Regions from separate parts of the Homo sapiens genome. Here region 2 is linked to region 1. The links are contacts of gene promoters, found by promoter capture Hi-C in blood cells and fetal thymus (Javierre and others, 2016). All regions are on one chromosome and are shown on one strand. Each heading gives the region's core, a stretch centred on a gene start or on the middle of the fragment in contact. The rest is flanking DNA. Distances are from core to core; before and after follow the strand shown. Region 1 has its middle 54 kb from the start of INO80. Region 2 holds the start of DLL4 (delta like canonical Notch ligand 4).

What was found. Contacts are between HindIII fragments. The CHiCAGO score rates a contact against its expected background, and 5 or more counts as called.
Region 2: a contact is called between the fragment with the promoter of DLL4 here and a fragment that was not itself captured in region 1, in 11 of 17 cell types (erythroblasts, M1 macrophages, endothelial precursors and 8 more). The highest score is 8.3, in erythroblasts.

The regions. Positions count from the first base shown.
Region 1 is chr15:41,167,936-41,172,030 of GRCh38, forward strand. No RefSeq gene overlaps it. Among named protein-coding and RNA genes, the nearest start is that of INO80, 54 kb to the left of the region's middle. The HindIII fragment of the contact is 1,061 bases long and covers 1,845-2,905 here.
Region 2 is chr15:40,927,399-40,931,493 of GRCh38, forward strand. DLL4 (delta like canonical Notch ligand 4) reads left to right here and starts at 1,942. Exons shown (of 11, transcript NM_019074.4): 1 at 1,942-2,336; 2 at 2,449-2,718; 3 at 3,227-3,284. The coding sequence starts at 2,271. RefSeq lists silencers at 1,084-1,153, 1,747-1,836. The HindIII fragment of the contact is 7,449 bases long and covers 1-3,249 here.

The DNA of each region.
Region 1 (4,095 bases), core at 1,125-3,624:
GGCGCGGTGGCTCACGCCTGTAATCCCAGCACTTCGGGAGGCCAAGGCAGGTGGATCACCTGAGGTCGGGAGTTCAAGACCAACCTGACCAAGATGGTGAAACCCTGGCTCTACTAAAAATACAAAATTAGCCAGGCGGGGTGGTGCATGCCTGTAATCCCAGCTACTTGGGAGGAGGCAGGAGAATCGCTTGAACCCAGAAGGCGGAGGTTGTAGTGATCTGAGATCAAGCCATTGCACTCCAGGCTAGGCAACAAGAGTGAAACTCTGTCTCAAAAAAAAAAAAAATTATATCTTAGTAAAACCGTTAAAAATAATTTGTGGTTGATATAACTTACAATGAGAGTTCATCAAACTACAAATGAGGTTTCTGGTTTACATAATACTATTCTGATTTTCTTCCTATTTGTCTTCTCCTTCTTGGTCTCTGTGTGTATCTCTTCCTGTTTACTTTTTTTTTTTTTTGAGAGGGAGTCTCGCTCGTCGCCCAGGCTGGAGTGTGCAGTGGCGCAATCTCGGCTCACTGCAAGCTCCGCCACCTGGGTTCACGCCATTCTCCTGCCTCAGCCTCCCGAGTAACTGGGACTACAGGTGCCCACCACACCCGGCTAACTTTTTGTATTTTTAGTAGAGATGGGGTTTCACTGTGTTCGCCAGGATGGTCTTGATCTCCTGATCTCGTAATCCGCCCACCTCAGCCTCCCAAAGTGCTGAGATTACAGGCGTGAGCCACTACACCCGGGCTTTTACCTTTTTTTTTTTTTTTTGAAAAGGAGTTTTACTCTTGTTGCCCAGGCTGGAGTGCAATGGCGAGATCTCAGCTCACCACAACCTCCGCCTCCCGGGTTCAAGTGATTCTCCTGCCTCAGCCTCCTGAGTAGCTGGGATTACAGGCATGCACCACCACACCCAGCTAATTTTGTATTTTTAGTATAAAGACAGGGTTTCTTAGTGTTGGTCAGGCTGGTCTCAAACTCCAGACGTCAGGTGATCCACCCACCTCAGCCTCCCAAAGTGCTGGGATTACAGGCATCAGCCACAGCGCCCAGCCTTGCCCTATTTTAGGAGTGTGATCTTTCTCATTCCTTTTCTCTTACTCTCTATACTCAAACCTGGAAAATACTGTATATGCTCATCACTTCAAGGGCCATTTACATCTCCCAATCTCTCTAGCTCAGATCTTTCTCCTTCTCTATATTCACATATATCTGACTGTCTAGTAGACACATCCATGTAGGAATTCCAAATGTATTCTAAATGAGAAACATGTAAAATTCAACTATCAAATCACAGTTCTGCAAACTATCCTCTCAATATATTCTCTCTGTAAATGGCACCAACTTCCAAACAGATGCCCAAGTCAGAAACCTGGGAGCCAGCCAAGACTCCTTTCCACACTTTACCATCCATATTCAATTGGTCATTTGGTTCATTATGCTTCCTAAAATCCTGTATTTGTGTATTCCTCTCCATCCTACCAACTGTATCCCACTGTATCCCTCCCAAATTCAAGCATTCACATCTTCCACCTTAATCAATGCAAGAGTTTTCATACAAGTCTTCCTCATATTATTCTTGCTCCTTTTCAATCCATCCTACAGCTTAAACCAGGACGATCTATCATCTACATTTCTGGTTGCAGTGAGCTGAGATCACATCACTGCACTCCAGTCTGGGCGAAAATAGCGAAAGTCTGTTTCAGAAAAAATAATAATTATATATATATATATATATAATCTACATTTCCGATCATCTCACTTCCTTGTTCATAACTGGCACTCACTCTGCCAGTTGAGTTGTTCCTGCTAACTAGAGTTCTGCCATAGCCCTCTATCCTATTTCCAAGCTTAGTTTTTTAGCCTTCTAGTCAGTTCTGTGAGCCACTCATCTTTCCAGTAAATTCCCTTCTTGTTTATATTACCCAAGTGATATAGTTTGGCCCTGTGTCCCCACTCAGGGGTTGGAGGTGGGGCCTGGTGGGAGGTGACTGGATCATGGGGTGGTTTCTAATGGTTTAGCACCATCCGCCTAGTGCTGTCTTGTGATAGAGTTCTCCCAAGATCTGTTTTTTTGAAAGTGTGTAGCACTTCCCCTTTTGCTCTCTTCCTCCTGCTCCAGCAATGTAAGACATGCTTGCGTCCCCTTTGCTTTCCACCAGGATTGTAAGTTTCCTGAGGCCTCCCAAGATACAGACGTCTATACAGCCTGTACAATCCCGTACAGTCTTAGCTGGCTCCTGGGTTTCTGACTTGGGCATCTGTTTGGAAGTTGGTGCCATTTACAGAGAGAATACATTTAGTTTGAAGCATTATGATTTGATAATGATAACTTATAGAGAAAAGAGATTTAATTGGCTTCAGGCAACCAATTACTTAGTCTCAGGTATATCTTTTTTTTTTTTTTTTTTTGGAGATGGAGTCTTGCTCCTTCACCCAGGCTGGAGTGCCATGGTGTGATCTCAGTTCACTGCGACCTCCGCCTCCTGGATTCAAGCAGTTCTTCTGCCTCAGCCTCCTGAGTAACTGTGACTACAGGTGCGTGCCACCATGCCTGGCTAATTTTTGTATTTTTAGTAAAGACAGGGTTTCACCATGTTGGCCAGGCTGGTCTCAAACTCCTTACCTCAGGTGATCCGCCCACCTTGCCCTCCCAAAGTGTTGAGATTACAGGCGTGATCCACCGCACCCAGCCCAGGTATGTCTTTATAGCAGTGTGAGAACAGTGTGAGAAGGGACTAACACACCGAGTCAGTTGTTTTGCTTATGACCAAAAAACTGTAACAGATACATGGACCTTGTCTATTTCCTAGCCTTATCTCTCACTATCATACCGTATTTTTTCCCCTCTTTCAATGGTGAAATCCTCATAGTTCTCTTACTCAAAGTGCACCCTTTCCTCTGAAGAAAGCTTTTGACACGGATCTCAGTTCCAGGACAAGTGCTATCTCCTTTCCAGGGCTACTCTGCCTTTCCCAACATGCGTACAATGCACCAGTACACCTTGAACATAACTATTATTTCGGTTATAATTTTGTGTACATATCGCCCACTAGACTCGAAGTCCTTTGAGAGTAGGGATTGTGTGTTTTTTTCTCTGATTCCCCAATCTAGTCCAGTGCCTGGCTTCAAAACGGCCCTCCAAAATGTTTGCTAACGAATGCACAAAACAAATGAAGCCTGCGGGTGCGGTAGCTCACACCTGTAATCCCGGCACTTTGGGAAGGTAAGGTGGGTGGATCATTTGAGGTCAGGAGTTTGAGACCAGTCTGGCCAATATGGTGAAACCCCGTCTCTACTAAAAATATAAAAATTAGCTGGGCATGGTGGTGAGCGCCTGTAATCCCAGCTACTCAGGAGGCTGAGGCAGGAGAATCACCTGAACCTGGGAGGCAGAGGTTGCAGAGAGCCCAGATCGCACCACTGCACTCCAGCGTGGGTGACAGAGCAAGACTCCATCTCAAAAAACAAACAAACACACAAACAAAAAAACAAATGAAGCTTACCATGTGGGACACTGTATAAGGCAGCTTTACGGCCACGGCTCAGTGTTCTCTATTTTTGTTGTTGTTTTTGAGACGGAGTCTTGCTCAGTCGCCCAGGCTGGAGTGCAGTGGCGCGATCTCGGCTCACTGCAAGCTCCGCCTCCCGGGTTCACGCCATTCTCCCGCCTCAGCCTCCCGATTAGCTGGGACCACAGGCGCCCGCCACCACGCCTGGCTAATTTTTTGTATTTTTAGTAGAGACGGGGTTTCACCATGTTAGCCAGGATGGTCTCAATCTCCTGACCTCGTGATCCGCCCGCCTCAGCCTCCCAAAGTGCTGAGATTATAGGCGTGAGCCACCGTGCCCGGCCCAGTGTTCTCTATTTTAAAGGCAAGTATGAACACCTACTAGACGTACATGTAATATTTTCATTTATATATTTTTTCATTTAAGTGGGCCTTCTCAGAAGGAAGTGCTGAGGAGGAATTTCCTTTTCTCCACATAAAGATTTTGCTATTTCAATGGCATCCCAACAAGTTACACAATAAAAAATTTCTTTCCCTTAATTCCCTCATTCCTGGAACTTGCCATTTTGGCTCTTCCTAAGGAATGT
Region 2 (4,095 bases), core at 692-3,191, 240 kb before region 1:
GAGGATGTTTTTATTAACTCCTGGGCCAGGATTTGGAGTTGAGAGAGGACAGGGCTAGGTAGGGCTGGATGCCAGCTTGGAGGGGAGCAAGGGGCACCCGCTGGCATCTTAGAGAGGCAAGTCCAGGGATCCATAGGGTATAGGCGGAGAGAAGATCTGGGAGCCCACTTGCCAGGATCGCCGGGAGGCACGCCCCGGACTCCCCCTCCCTCGGGCCTGGGACTCCGCCTGCCCATAACCTACATTAACTCCCGAGCGCAGCCTGGGCCCATCTGCCGCCCCGCCCCACCTCGGTTCCCCACGCCAACCCGCTCGCGCCAGATGGTGGCTGGGAGGGGTGGCCGTGCGTGGGGGACCCCGGAGCCCGTCTCCTCACCTCGCCCCTCCCCCAACCCACGCTCCCAACCTCTTGTTTCTCATCCTTCCCCCCCCCACCACACCCGTCCCCCAGTCCTCCACCACCACCACCCAACTCAAAAAAAAAAATCAGACCATGCTCGGCATTGGCAGCTGTTGGGCTTCTCGCCGCTCCCCCACCCTTACCGCCTCCCCCGGGTTCGCGCCGCGTCCCGGCTCCCCCCCCGCGCTGATCTTACCGCCCGACTACAGCCATCACCTCGCGGGCGGGCTGACAGCTGAAGCCACAGGGCCCCCGCTGCCCTCGGCGTCGCAAAGAGAGAGCTCCCCGGCACCCCTGAGACTGGGAGAAGCCGGCCCTCCCCGGTCTGCGGTCTCCGGGGATCACGCCGGGTTCCGAGAAAGCAGCTGCGCTGCTGCCGCTTGGAGGAGTGGGGCCACCCAGGGGACCCTCTCGGGCGAGACTTGGGAAGCCGCCTGAAACTCAAACAGCTCCGCAAGCCTCCAGTTCCACCCCACATCCCGCCTTATGAGGCGAGGACCCGGGCCGACCCGGCCTCAGTCCCTCACCTTGATTCTCCAGTGGCCTGAGCCAACTCTGGCGTCAGGAGAGTTCCTCCTTGCCCCAGCTGAGCGACAGGGCGCGGCCGGGGGCTTGGGGCTGCTGGGGTGGGGGGAGGCAGTGGGCGCAGGAACTGAAGCTGGACTCAGGTGAGGGGACGCGCTGGAGGCGGGGCCAGAACCTCATTACCATACAGCTGAGGACGCGCCCCCCTCCTACCTCCGGGACCACGCCCCGCCCTCCCCCACCTCAGGGACCGCGCGTCTGGGTCTCTGGCACGCGCCAAGCCCTGGCAGGGGGCAGAAGGGAGAAGGCACGCGCTGGGCACGCCCCCCCTTAGCTAGAGAGGGAGACGCCCAACAGGTGCACAGAGAGGGCCCCGAGCCTTAGACCCTTAGCCCCTAGCCTTGCTCAGAGTGGCCACAGAGAGGTTAACGCTTCTGCTGGCTTCCCTGCTGCGCTGGGGACGCGTGGTGGGTGGGCACTCATAGGTTGGGGGCCGTTGAGACAAGGGCTCCAGAAGCTCCAGGAAGGAAAAGGAGATCGGATTTCCCTAGCGCTGGTTTTTGCATTCCGGGCTTAAGTTCTTTTTACCTGCTTTGGAACACTAGGTAACTAGCGCCTGCTGCGGATGCACAGCCTACAGGGACTGCCTAGTGTCTCCGCCCCCAAGACCATCCCCGAACCACCCACTCACCTCCTGCCCCATTACCGGGCAACCCCTCTATCCTCCGGCGGCCAGGGTCTCAGCCCTTAACCCCGCCATCACGGAGGACTGGTCACCTCGGCACGCGCAGAGCTGGGGGACCTAGAGGTTGGGAGCGGCACGGAGGGGCGGGGACCTGCGCCCGACTGGCTGACGGGGAGGGGGGAGCGGCGGGGGCGGAGGCCCCCTCCGGGCGGCGCTGGGACTGTAGCAGCTAGAGGCCGGGAGGGGAGGGGAGAATGACCATGAGTCTGAGTGACAGGCGGCGAGGAGAGGAGCCAATATATATAAGGAAGGCCCCCAGCGCGCAGGTTTCAGTAGCGGCGCTGCGCGCAGGCCGGGAACACGAGGCCAAGAGCCGCAGCCCCAGCCGCCTTGGTGCAGCGTACACCGGCACTAGCCCGCTTGCAGCCCCAGGATTAGACAGAAGACGCGTCCTCGGCGCGGTCGCCGCCCAGCCGTAGTCACCTGGATTACCTACAGCGGCAGCTGCAGCGGAGCCAGCGAGAAGGCCAAAGGGGAGCAGCGTCCCGAGAGGAGCGCCTCTTTTCAGGGACCCCGCCGGCTGGCGGACGCGCGGGAAAGCGGCGTCGCGAACAGAGCCAGATTGAGGGCCCGCGGGTGGAGAGAGCGACGCCCGAGGGGATGGCGGCAGCGTCCCGGAGCGCCTCTGGCTGGGCGCTACTGCTGCTGGTGGCACTTTGGCAGCAGGTAACACGTCCCGCGCCCTCTCCGTCCCCTCTGCCGCGCTCTGGGCCTCAGCCCCGGGCACCAGCTGAGCTGACCGGTCCCCTCCCTCCTTCCCTCGGTCCCTGTGCAATAGCGCGCGGCCGGCTCCGGCGTCTTCCAGCTGCAGCTGCAGGAGTTCATCAACGAGCGCGGCGTACTGGCCAGTGGGCGGCCTTGCGAGCCCGGCTGCCGGACTTTCTTCCGCGTCTGCCTTAAGCACTTCCAGGCGGTCGTCTCGCCCGGACCCTGCACCTTCGGGACCGTCTCCACGCCGGTATTGGGCACCAACTCCTTCGCTGTCCGGGACGACAGTAGCGGCGGGGGGCGCAACCCTCTCCAACTGCCCTTCAATTTCACCTGGCCGGTGAGCACAGCCTGGGCGCACTGGGAGGTCGCAGAAGCCGAGAGAGGAGGCGCCCTGGGACCAAAGCCCCCTCCCCAGATTTCCTTGTACACACACCCCCACCCCCAAAAAGCCCAGGATGCATTCTTTCCTGGCTCTTCCCGACTCTCTCCTGAGACTGATCCCAGAAAAGGCTCTCACCAGTCTCCGTCTTCCCAGTTTATGTCCTCCCGTCCCCAGCTCTTGGGACACGATTTTCATTACCTACCACTCTGGGGCGGTACCCTACCACCCCCTCCTCCAGTGGCTCTCCCTTACACTCTCCCGTCTCTCAACCCTCCCTCTACCGGGGGTTCTCCTCTCGCCTTCCCTGCTCAAGCGCTACACTGTGCACAGCCCCGTTATGTTGACCCGGGCGCAGTAACTGAATCCTGCAATTAGATTAATTAAACAGGCTGCCGCAAGGCACCCCCACCTCTCCCCGCTTGCTCATCTCGCCATCTCTCCGTCCCCCCACCCCCTTTCCCAGGGTACCTTCTCGCTCATCATCGAAGCTTGGCACGCGCCAGGAGACGACCTGCGGCCAGGTGAGTAGCTCGCTCCGCCACCACAGGGGGGCGACACGGCGCAGCGCCGAAAGAGTTAATCTGTTCTAGGCGGGGGAAGTGCGGGCTTGGGGGTGGGAGGCAGGACGCTTAGCTTGGCCTGGAGCTGCGCCCCGCGCTGGACGCTCGGATTCCGCTCGCTGCCTGGACTCAGAGCACAATTGCGTTTCCTGCGGGTTATTTTTGGCGTGGGAACGCGGGGAGTACGGCGGTGAGAAAGGCTGAAGCTGCCAGCGCCGCTGACGGGCCCCTTCCTGTATTTTACACCTTTCGCGAATTCCGCTCCTTTGGAAAGGGAATAATGGCTTTGGGATGTTGTTCTGACACAGAGGAAAAGGATATTTCAGCAGCACAACAATTCTCACTTTGAAAAGGAAAAAAGAAAACCATTACCCACCTCTGGAGGCAGAACCCCTGAATGGGCACCAAAGGACCCCCTGCTCCCAGGGTCCTCTCTAGCCTGGGGAGCTTTTCTTTCTTTTTCTCTTTTTTCCATTTTGACCTCTTTTCCTCTTTCCCCTCCCTATCTGCCTCCAAGACCCTGGGATATCTTAACATCCTTCTATTGTCCCCTTTTTGAATACTATCAGGCCCCCTGCACATGCACACACGTAGGGCAGCTACGTAGCGGGGCTTTGGGTCCCTCTGGCCTGTTCTTGCTGGCAGGCGGGGGTCATCTGGATAACTGGGCTGATTGGTTGGCTGATCACCATCATCACAGCCAAGAAGGACATTGGCCAGCCGTCACTGGCACCCTTGGGGACTGGCGACCCTTCCCTGACCCGACCCTCTG